Linked DNA regions of Homo sapiens: region 1 is linked to region 2. Evidence: promoter capture Hi-C in 16 types of primary human blood cells and fetal thymus (Javierre and others, 2016). All regions are on one chromosome and are shown on one strand. The core of a region is centred on a gene start or on the middle of the fragment in contact, and the rest is flanking DNA. Distances in the headings are between cores, read along the strand shown.

Evidence for each region. Contacts are between HindIII fragments. The CHiCAGO score rates a contact against its expected background, and 5 or more counts as called.
Region 1: a contact is called between a fragment that was not itself captured here and the fragment with the promoter of CREB3L3 in region 2, in 1 of 17 cell types (naive CD8 T cells). The highest score is 5.2, in naive CD8 T cells.

The regions. Positions count from the first base shown.
Region 1 is chr19:3,978,238-3,983,145 of GRCh38, reverse strand. It overlaps EEF2 (eukaryotic translation elongation factor 2), which reads left to right. Exons shown (of 15, transcript NM_001961.4): 3 at 1-36; 4 at 128-339; 5 at 722-900; 6 at 1,094-1,199; 7 at 1,694-1,807; 8 at 2,167-2,305; 9 at 2,437-2,632; 10 at 3,080-3,338; 11 at 3,710-3,817. It overlaps SNORD37 (small nucleolar RNA, C/D box 37), which reads left to right and starts at 574; the gene lies at 574-639. RefSeq lists an enhancer at 822-1,673. The HindIII fragment of the contact is 2,489 bases long and covers 2,414-4,902 here.
Region 2 is chr19:4,149,237-4,155,081 of GRCh38, reverse strand. It overlaps CREB3L3 (cAMP responsive element binding protein 3 like 3), which reads right to left and starts at 1,451. Exons shown (of 10, transcript NM_032607.3): 1 at 1,308-1,451; 2 at 55-183. The coding sequence starts at 1,334. RefSeq lists a silencer at 5,344-5,544. The HindIII fragment of the contact is 35,033 bases long and covers 1-3,493 here.

The DNA of each region.
Region 1 (4,908 bases), core at 2,409-4,908, 170 kb after region 2:
CCGATGGCGCATTGGTGGTGGTGGACTGCGTGTCAGGTAAGCAGTGGGTCCCCCTGAGGCACGGCCTGGAACCGGGGGCCATCCTTGCTTGAGGATGACAGCGCCGCCCTGTCCCCCGTGTCCCCAGGCGTGTGCGTGCAGACGGAGACAGTGCTGCGGCAGGCCATTGCCGAGCGCATCAAGCCTGTGCTGATGATGAACAAGATGGACCGCGCCCTGCTGGAGCTGCAGCTGGAGCCCGAGGAGCTCTACCAGACTTTCCAGCGCATCGTGGAGAACGTGAACGTCATCATCTCCACCTACGGCGAGGGCGAGAGCGGCCCCATGGGCAACATCATGGTACGGCCCTCCCTAGCTGGGTGGTGGGCTTGCCGCAGCGGGATCTGCAGGAGCCGGTGGGGAGTGGAGTTGAGCTGAGGGGGACTGGAAGTGTGTTTTTGCCAGGAATGTTGGGTGACAGAGAAGGGGGCTGGAATGTTTTCATCCGACTTGACCCAGCCCTTGATCTTTGGGCAGCTGGAAGAGACGAGCTCAGGGAACGCTGCCCTGGGTGGTGGAGGGGCTGGCCCCCCTATTCGTGATGACTGATCATTTCTTCACTTTGACCAGATGTCTACTGAAGAAAGCCTGCGTCTGAGGCCCATGCCCAAGGCGCCCAGCCCGTAGCTTCAGGCTCTGCGCAGGGGCCCTCACGGCTGCTTCTCGTTTCTCACACTTCCAGATCGATCCTGTCCTCGGTACCGTGGGCTTTGGGTCTGGCCTCCACGGGTGGGCCTTCACCCTGAAGCAGTTTGCCGAGATGTATGTGGCCAAGTTCGCCGCCAAGGGGGAGGGCCAGTTGGGGCCTGCCGAGCGGGCCAAGAAAGTAGAGGACATGATGAAGAAGCTGTGGGGTGACAGGTGAGCCCCGCGGGATATGGTGGGGGATTCCTGACACCTGGGGGTAGTGGCAGCGACGTAGGGGCGTGGTGTGCTATTCACAGCGTGGCTCAAGCCCACCAGGTCTTGCCCAAGCATGTCCCCTTGGCGACCACCCTCCCCAAGTCATCCCCTGGAGACCCTAACTTGATTTGGCTTGGCCTCTCCTTGCCAGGTACTTTGACCCAGCCAACGGCAAGTTCAGCAAGTCAGCCACCAGCCCCGAAGGGAAGAAGCTGCCACGCACCTTCTGCCAGCTGATCCTGGACCCCATCTTCAAGGTGAGTGAGGGCTGCGCCAGGCACCCCGCCGATGCGACTATTGGCCCTCGGCCCTGTGGGCTCCGGCCGGTAGCCTGTCGGCTGACTGGGCCCGTCTCCTTGTGGGGCAGATGCGAGATGGGAGGAGGCACAGCTCCTAACTGAGGTGGAGTCAGGGCTCCTCTCTTAAGATCTGGACTGCATAGCCAGAGCCTTGGGACCTCTCCTGCATTGAGGGGGTTGAATAACTTGTGGCTTTGGCGGTTCAGTGCTTGTAAGTCAGAACTTGGGTCCTTGTCTGAGTCAGAGTGGGCTTTTTCCTCTGCTCCACCACGAGGTTTCCTCCAGCTCCCGATCCGCTCAGCTGGCTGGGCCCGTGGTAGGCAGGCCAGGCCTGCTCCTGCTCCCGTGCTGCGTCCCCCTGCGCTGACCTGAGTCTTCCAAGCAGGAAGCAGTGCCAGGCTTCCTCCTGCTGTTCCCAAATGGGCTTTCTTGTTTCTTGGTGGGGAATGTAGGTGTTTGATGCGATCATGAATTTCAAGAAAGAGGAGACAGCAAAACTGATAGAGAAACTGGACATCAAACTGGACAGCGAGGACAAGGACAAAGAAGGCAAACCCCTGCTGAAGGTGCGGCCTGGGCCCAGCCCTCGGGGTGGAGGGAACACAGGCTGCTGTTTCCGGATGCTCTGACAGCCCAGGCCTGGGGGCTGAAGTCCTCAGCTGGGCAGGGACAGCTGCTGCCCCTTTCGCTTTAGACTCTGGGTGCTGCTGGAGACACATCCCAGCAGCCAGCCCCATCCGGGACAGGTGTGGGTGAGGGCCTTGGCAGGAGTGTGCATGGCCTTTGCCGCCTTCCAGAAGGGACTGTGCTTTGGAGAACGTTAGTCCTGACTTTGGCTTCCTTGGCTTCAAGAGAGGAAGCGTGTACGGGGTGGGGCCATCCTGGGCTCCCCAGGTGTCTCATGCACCGCTCTCTGCCCCCGCAGGCTGTGATGCGCCGCTGGCTGCCTGCCGGAGACGCCTTGTTGCAGATGATCACCATCCACCTGCCCTCCCCTGTGACGGCCCAGAAGTACCGCTGCGAGCTCCTGTACGAGGGGCCCCCGGACGACGAGGCTGCCATGGGTACGTGGTCCCGGTGGCCGGGCCCTGAGATGCAGCCGGATGACTTCCTGTTGCCCAAGGTTGTGGGTTGCAGGGTTCCAGAAGGCTGAGCTGCACTGGAATAAAGCTTGCGGGTTTTCTCTGTCCCTCAGGCATTAAAAGCTGTGACCCCAAAGGCCCTCTTATGATGTATATTTCCAAAATGGTGCCAACCTCCGACAAAGGTCGGTTCTACGCCTTTGGACGAGTCTTCTCGGGGCTGGTCTCCACTGGCCTGAAGGTCAGGATCATGGGGCCCAACTATACCCCTGGGAAGAAGGAGGACCTCTACCTGAAGCCAATCCAGAGGTGAGCAGCTGGGTGATGTGCAGGCCCCTTGGCACTGTTGCGGGCCCTGCCCTGCTCCAAGTCTTGGGCTCCTCAGTCGGGAGCTAGAAGTAAGGAGCATAGAAGGAATATAGGGTGATACTTGTGCCAGCCACAACTTTTGTTCTTAGCCCAGTGAGGGCATTTCTGGAGAAGCTCCAAGCCCCAGGGCACAGCACACCCCTGCTCATCTGTGTCCCTGGGCACAGGTGGGTGGCGGCCGTCGACCCATACCCAGGGAGGAGGGCAGTGATTCTGAAGAGGATGTTTCCTGACAGCCCCGACGCAGCAGTCAGGGCCTTGTGGAAGCCACCAGTCTGCCCTGGGACCTGGCAGGAGGGCCACCAACTCCGGGAGGGACCTGCCCTGGCCCTCCAGGGTCCAGCACAACCATCCCTGCGGCCTGCTGCCGCCTTCTGCTTCTTCCAGAACAATCTTGATGATGGGCCGCTACGTGGAGCCCATCGAGGATGTGCCTTGTGGGAACATTGTGGGCCTCGTGGGCGTGGACCAGTTCCTGGTGAAGACGGGCACCATCACCACCTTCGAGCACGCGCACAACATGCGGGTGATGAAGTTCAGCGTCAGCCCTGTTGTCAGAGTGGCCGTGGAGGCCAAGAACCCGGCTGACCTGCCCAAGCTGGTGGAGGGGCTGAAGCGGCTGGCCAAGTCCGACCCCATGGTGCAGGTGGGCACGGAGTGCACCTGCTGGGAGCAGACACCCTGAGGGGGGACGGCTTGTGTCCTGAGTTGTGGCTGTGTGGGTTGCTGTGGTTGGTGGATTGGGGTGACTGGTCATGAAAGGAGGGGTTCTTGGCTGTGGCTGTAAATGGAGACTCCTGCCCAGGCAGCCACCACCCTCTCCTAGGCTGCTCTGCGCGTGTTCACTGTAGCTTGTGGGACTTAACATTTCTTCAGGAGTTTGTGCTGGTCCCAGTTTCCCAGCACCTTCCCTGAAATCTTGTTCTGGCGGGGTCCCTAGCTAAAGGGAAGCTGGGAGCCTGGTCCCGCCTGTTCCGAGCCGCCTACCCCTTTGGTGCTGACCCGCATCCCTTTCAGTGCATCATCGAGGAGTCGGGAGAGCATATCATCGCGGGCGCCGGCGAGCTGCACCTGGAGATCTGCCTGAAGGACCTGGAGGAGGACCACGCCTGCATCCCCATCAAGGTGAGGCGCCAGTGACCAGCCTTCCCCACGCCCCACCCCGGACACCTGCCCTCTGCTTTAAAGCTGAGCTGAGCTAGGCTCTGCAGACGCCTAGACTTGATCTCGGTCTTGGTCTCAGCTTCTTAAGTTCCTCAAGTTTCTTCTTTGCAGTCTTCCACAGGCATGTGGGGCTGTTTTTGTTGTTGTTGTTGTTTTTTTTGAGATAGTCTCGCTGTGTCATCCAGGCTGGAGTGCAGTGGCGTGATCTTGGCTCGCTAGAACCTCCACCTCCCGGGTTCAAGCGATTCTCTTGCCTCACTCAGCTTCCTGAGTAACTGGGACTACAGGCGCGTGCTACCACGCCCGGCTAATTTTTTTTTGTATTTTTAGTAGAGGCGGGGTTTCACTGTGTTAGTAAGTCAAGATGGTCTCGATCTCCTGACCTCGTGATCCCCCTGCCTCGGCCTCCCAAAGTGCTGGGATTACAGGTGTGAGCCACCATGCCTGGCCCAGGGCTATTTTTTTTTTTTTTTTTTTTTTTTTTTTGAGACAAGAGTCTTGCTCTGTTGCTTAGGCTGGAGTGCAATGGCGTGATCTTGGCTCACTGCAAGCTCTGCTTCCCAGGTTCACGCCATTCTCCTGCCTCAGCCTCCTGTAGCTGGGACTTCAGGCGCCTGCCATCATGCCCGGCTAATTTTTTGCATTTTTAGTAGAGACGGGGTTTCACCGTGTTAGCCAGGATGGTCTGGATCTCCTGACCTCGTGATCCACCCGCCTCGGCCTCCCAAAGTGCTGGGATTACAGGCGTGAGCCACCACGCCCGGCCTCCGGGGCAGTTTTTGAGTTACATCCTGCTGTCTTCTGTCCACAAACAACACAAATGCTCTGGAGGGGTTGGGACAGGCCTGCTCCAGACCTCGTTTCTTCCCTGTTAATGCTTAAAATTCCACAAGCCCGTGGTTTCTGCGCCGGAGAGCTCAGTGGAGCCCCTGCTCCTTGTCCTTGTCTGGAGTGAGATGCGCTTGGCACTGCAACACTGACTCCGCTTCGTTCTGATTGACGTGGCTCTACCAGGCTGTATGAGGTCCGCCTTGCTAGGAAAAGCTTTTAAG
Region 2 (5,845 bases), core at 202-2,701:
AGTTGGCCCGCCTGGAGCTCTGTGGTCCCGGGGCAACTGCAGTGGACTCCTCACCTGGTCCTTGACGTGACCCCAGCCCTCGCCCAGCTCCACGTGTCTCAGGATGCCGTCCTGCCGGTCAAACAGGAGATCCAGGAGCTCAAAGCTGTCGATGGGGTCCATGGAGCAGGCAGCAGAAGCCATCTGGGGCGCGAGGAACAGATGTGAGGGTCACATACAGCCCCTGTCCTCCCCACCTCCCATGTGCACATAACCCTGGCTCTTTCCGGCTAGAGTTCAGTTGCCGCTCTGCCTCCGGGTTGGGCCAGCTGCTGCCCCTCGCTGAGACTCCCTTTCCAAATCTGGACTTTGAGGCTGATAGAGAGAATTCCACAGTGTGAGAGCCAATTTCTCTTAAAGTGCTGGAGAGGCTGGATGTGGTGGCTCATGCCTGTAATCTCAGCACTTTGGGAGGCCGGGGCAGGAGGATCACTTGAGCCCAGGAGTTCAAGACCAGCCTGCGCAACATAGAGACCCCTATCCCTACTGCAAATAATTTAAAAAAATTAGCTGGCTGCGGTGGCACACACTTGTCGTCCCAGCTACTGGGGAGGCTGAGGTAGGAGGATCCCTTGAACCCAGGAGGTTGAGGCTGCAGTGAGCTATGGCCACCCCACTGCACTCCACCCTGGGTCACAGAGCAAGACCTTGTTTCAAAAAACAAAAAAGTATGGCAGGCACGGTGGCTCACATCTGTAATCCCAGCACTCTGGGAAGCCGAGGCGGGCAGCTCACCTGAAGTCAGGAGTTTGAGACCAGCCTAGCCAACATGGTGAAACCCTGTCTCTAGGAAAAGTACAAAAATTAGCCGGGCGTGGTGGTGCACACCTGTAATCCCAACTACTTGGGAGGCTGAGGCAGGAAGATCTCTTGAACCCAGGAGGTGGAAGTTGCAGTGAGCTGAGATCGTGCCATTGCACTCTAGCCTGGGTGACAGAGGGAGACTCCATCTCAAAAAATAAAAATAAAAATAAAATAAAATAAAATAAAAAGTGCTGGAGAGAGGCCCTAGCTAGAGATGCCGCTTGCCTCTCAGGCCTTCACAGCCTCCCCAAGTGCCCGCTCCTAGGAGGCAGGGGGACCTGGAAGAAAGACAAGGGCAGCCCCGGGGCAAAGGCACACAGTTTTGCTCATTGCATCCTTTCTCTGGGCCTCAGTCTTCCCATCTGTACAATAGGGGTGGAGATGGGGTCCTTCCAGCTCTGGCAGCTTGGGTAGGCTTTCCCAGCCTAGACTCCCGCTCTCCCTGGGGACCTAGTAGGGCTCACCTTTCCAGCAGCTAAATCCGTATTCATGGGTCCATCCAGTTCTGTCTGCAGATGCCTCGGGGGGTCTCTGCTCCAAGCTGGAGGCCCACCCACCGCCAGCGTTACCTGGGGCCGGGCAAGCTCACAGCCCTCTGTGGCTCTGTCACCACTCCCAAAAGATGCTGAAGCGGTCACAGGCAGCTCCCAGCCCACCTCCAGGTGCTGATTGGTGGACAGGGTGGAGAGACAGGGTTGAGGGCCAGTGACACTGGGGCAGGCAGGAGCAGGGGAGGGAAGACCGTTATCTGGGTGTTTTGTGGTTTTCCAGCCCTCAGTGAGCAAAGGTCGAAGTCTGGGGTACCTCCACTCTGCCGTGACCTCTGCCCTACTTATGAGGACTTTTTCTTTTTTTCTTTCTTTTTTGAGACGGAGTCTCGCTCTGTGGCCCAAGCTGGAGTGCAGTGGTGCCATCTCATTTCGGCTCACTGCAACCTCTGCCTCTTGGGTTCAAGTGATTCTCCTGCCTCAGCCTCCCGAGTAGCTGGGACTACAGGTCCCCATCACCATGCCCGGCTAACTTTTGTATTTTTAGTAGAGACGAGGTTTCATCATGTTTTCCAGGCTGGTCTCGAACTCCTGACCTCGTGATCGGCCCCTCAGTCTCCCAAAGTGCGGGGATTACAGGCGTGAGCCACCGCACCCGGCCAGTTACAGGACTTTTTCTCTTCAGAATTCCCAGATGGGTTCTGGGATAGCCCAGGGCCCTTACATGGGTCCTGTCCACTCCCTGGACAGAAACAAACCAAGAGGACCAGACCAGATCTTCACTGAAGCCAGTTTTCCTGCCAGCAGCTAGCGGCTCCCATCCTTCACCCCACCTGCCAACCTCCGGCCCCCAGCCCCCTCCGAAACCAGCTTGGACTCCGCCTCTGAGTCCCCATGGGTGATTCTGTGCAATCAATTCTCTCTAGAATCTTCTATCGTTCATTGAGTCAACAAATATTTATGGAGCCAAACTGGTTCCTGCTTAGGGCCTTTGCACCTACTCACCTGCTCGCCCCTCTGCCTGGAACTCTCCTCTTGTACCCTCCCTCTTCCCCTCTGGCTCTAGGTCACTGTATTGACATTTTAGTGAATGTTCGATATTTGTGAATCAGCCCGGGTGGCTGAGAGGTGTCTCTGACCTCCCCTCCACCCCCTACCAAGAGAGAGGAGCCCTGTTTTGTTTTTTTGTTTTTTTTTTTGGTGTTGGTGGAGGACAGGGTCTCACTCTATTGCCCAGGCTGGAGTGCAGTGGCAGGATCATAGCTCACTGCAGCCTCCAACTCCTGGGTTCAAGTGATCCTCCCGTCTCAGCCTCCCAAGTAGCTAGGACTGCAGGCGTGCACCACCACACCTGGCTAATTTTGTTTTTTTTTTTTTATAGAGATGGGGTCTTACTGTGTTGGCCAGTATGGTCTCAAACTCCTGGGCTCAAATGATCCACCTGCTTCAGCCTCCCAAAGTGCTGGATTTACAGGCATGAGCCACTGTGCCCAGGCAAAGTCCCCCTTTAGCAGATGACATATTAGACCAAGCGTGGTGGCTCACATCTGTAATGCCAGCACTTTGGGAGGCCGAGGTGGGTGGATCACCTGAGGTCAAGAGTTTGAGACCAACCTGGCCAACATGGTGAAACCCCATCTGTACTAAAAATATAAAAATTAGATGGGTGTGGTAGCACATGCCTGCAATACCAGTACTCGGGAGGCCGAAGCAGGAGAATCACTTGAACCCAGGAGGCGGAGGTTGCAGTGAGCTGAGATCACACCACTGCACTCCAACCTGGGCGACAGTGAGACTCTGTCTCAAAAAAAAAAAAAATGACATGTTCAGTGCAGTCCTGAAGGATGAGATGGAACTGGCCCTGGGAAGGTCTGGGGAAAGGTGTCCCAGGCAGAGGCACAGTTTGTGCAAAGGCCCTGAGGCAGGTCCGTGCCTAGCGCATTGGAGGAACAGCAATGAGACCCCTGTGGCTGGAGCAGAGTGAGGAGAGGAAGACAGGCAGGAGAGGAAGACAGGGAGGAGGGGAAGGCAGGGAGGAGGGGAAGGCAGGGAGGGGACGGGGCAGGTCGTGCAAAGCCCTGTGTGTTGTGGCAAGGAGTTTGGTTTGTGCTAAACAGCAGGGCACTGTTGGAAGTTTAGCAAATAGGAGACTAAATCAAGCTTTCTGTTTGCTGGACACTGTGCCATGTGCTAGGTTGAGAGGGGTAATTTATGTGCCCTCCTTGCTCTAAAAAAATTCACATCCTGGTTCCCTTCCCCTTCCTTCCTTCCTTTCCTTCCTTCCTTCCTTCCTTCTCTCCCTCCCTCCCTCCCTCCTTCCTTCCTTCTTTCCTCTCTCTTTTTTTCTCTTTTCTCTCTCTATCTTTCTTTCTCTCTTTCTTTCTTTCTTTCTCAAGACAGAGTCTCGCTCTGTCGCCCAGGCTGGAGTGCAGTAGCACAATCTCAGCTCACTGCAACCTCCACTTCCCAGGTTCAGGCGATTCTCCTGCCTCAGCCTCCTGAGTAGCTGGCATTACAGGCTCCCACCACCACACCCAGCTAATTTTTGTATTTTTGGTGGAGATGGGGTTTCACCATGTTGGCCAGGCTGGTCTTGAACTCCTGAATTCAAGTGATTCACCCGCCTTGGCCTCACAAAGTGCTGGGATTACAGGCATGAGCCACCACGCCCGGCCTGGTTTATATTTTTCAATGGATCACTCATATGTATTCATGAAATCAAAATTCAATAAGGGGCTACCATATGCCACACACGATATGGTTCTTTTATCCAACACTAACTCACATTACTGCACTTGCCCTCCACTAGGGCAGACTGGAGTGCAGTGCTGTGATCAAAACTCATTGCAGCAGGCCGGGCACAGTGGCTCATGCCTGGAATCCCAGCACTTTGGGAGGCCGAGGTGGGTGGATCACGAGGTCAGGAGATTGAGACCATCCTGGCTAACACGGTGAAACCCTGTCTCCATTAAAGATACGAAAAAAAAAATTAGCCGGGCGTGGCGGTGGGCGCCTGTAGTCCCAGCTACTCGGGAGGCTGAGGCAGGAGAATGGCGTGAACCTGGGAGGCGGAGCTTGCAGTGAGCCGAGATCGGTGCCACTGTTCTCCAACCTGGGTGACAGAGCGAGACTCCATCTCAAAAAAAAAAAAAAAAACTCACTGCAGCCTCAACCTTCCGGACGGAAACTCAGGACACTCACTGTGCAATGTCTGGGACATCTGTGGTTGTCACGAGTGCGAGATGCTCCTGGCATAGAATGGGTGAAGGCCAGAGATGCCGTTCAGCACCCTACAGTGCCCAGGACGGCCCCACCCCAGAAAGCAATCCTGCCCCACAGCCACGGGATCTGGGGGAGAAAGACTGCATTAATTATTTGGGAAAAAATTGAGTGGGTTCCCTGCTCACACCAGACACCAGAATAAACTCCCAACAGGGCAGACGGTATAAACCAGGGGAACCCCAGATCCTGGGATTCACCTCCTCCCTCCTTCCCCATTCAGGGCATGGATTTCAATGTGTGCAGCCTCCTGGGACCTCAGCAGGGCAGAGCATCACGGGATACAGTCTCTTGGGGGTCCATGGAATCCCCTAACCCAGGGGAGCTCACCCAGGGTGATTTTACACTCCCCCGAGGACACTGGGTGATGTCTGAGGACATCTGTGGTTGTTACAACAAAGGGGGGTGGCCCTGGCGCGGGGTGGGTGGAGGCCAGGGACACTGCTCAGCAACCTCCAGTGCCCAGGATGGCCCCACCCCATAGAAGGATCCGGGTCCCCAAGCTCCACGGGGCCCAAGAAGAGACCCCGATAACGGTACCTGTCCCTGTCTGGGTGCTACTAGAATTATCTCGCCCTTGACCTCTACATTTTTCTGATCTCCTTTTATCTGCTCTGTGTTGGATTTTAGAGGGGTTGTTTGCCTTGGCTTGGCTTTAGTGATCCCAGTCATAATATTTATTCAGCATTTGCCGTGGAGGCTTTTTTCCAGGGCCATCACAGTGGGTGGATCAAGTAGGTGATGTTTGACTTCTGGACTCCTCTCTGCCTCTCCTCACCCCGTTTATCACTCTTGGGAGTTCTAGTGCCCTCGAGAGAGATCACTCCCCCTTCTCTTATCAAAACCTGCTGGAGCCGGGCACCGTGGCTCATGCCGGTAATCCAAGCCCTTTGGGAGGCTGAGGCGGGAAGATTGCTCAAGCCCTGGAGTTCCCGATCAGCCTGGGCAATAGAGCAAGACCTCATAACTACAAAAAAGTTTAAAAAATTAGCCAGGCAGCATGGCCAACATGGTGAAACCGCGTCTCTACTAAAAATACAAAAATTAGCCAGATGTGGTGGCGGGCACATGTAATCCCAGCTACTCGGGAGGCTGAGGCAGGAGGATCACTTGAACCCAGGAGGTGGAGACTGCAGTGAGCCGAGATCATGCCACTGCACCCCAGCCTGGGTGACAGAGCAAGACCCTCTATCAAAAAGAAAAGGGCCGGGCATGGTGGCTCACGCCTGTAATCC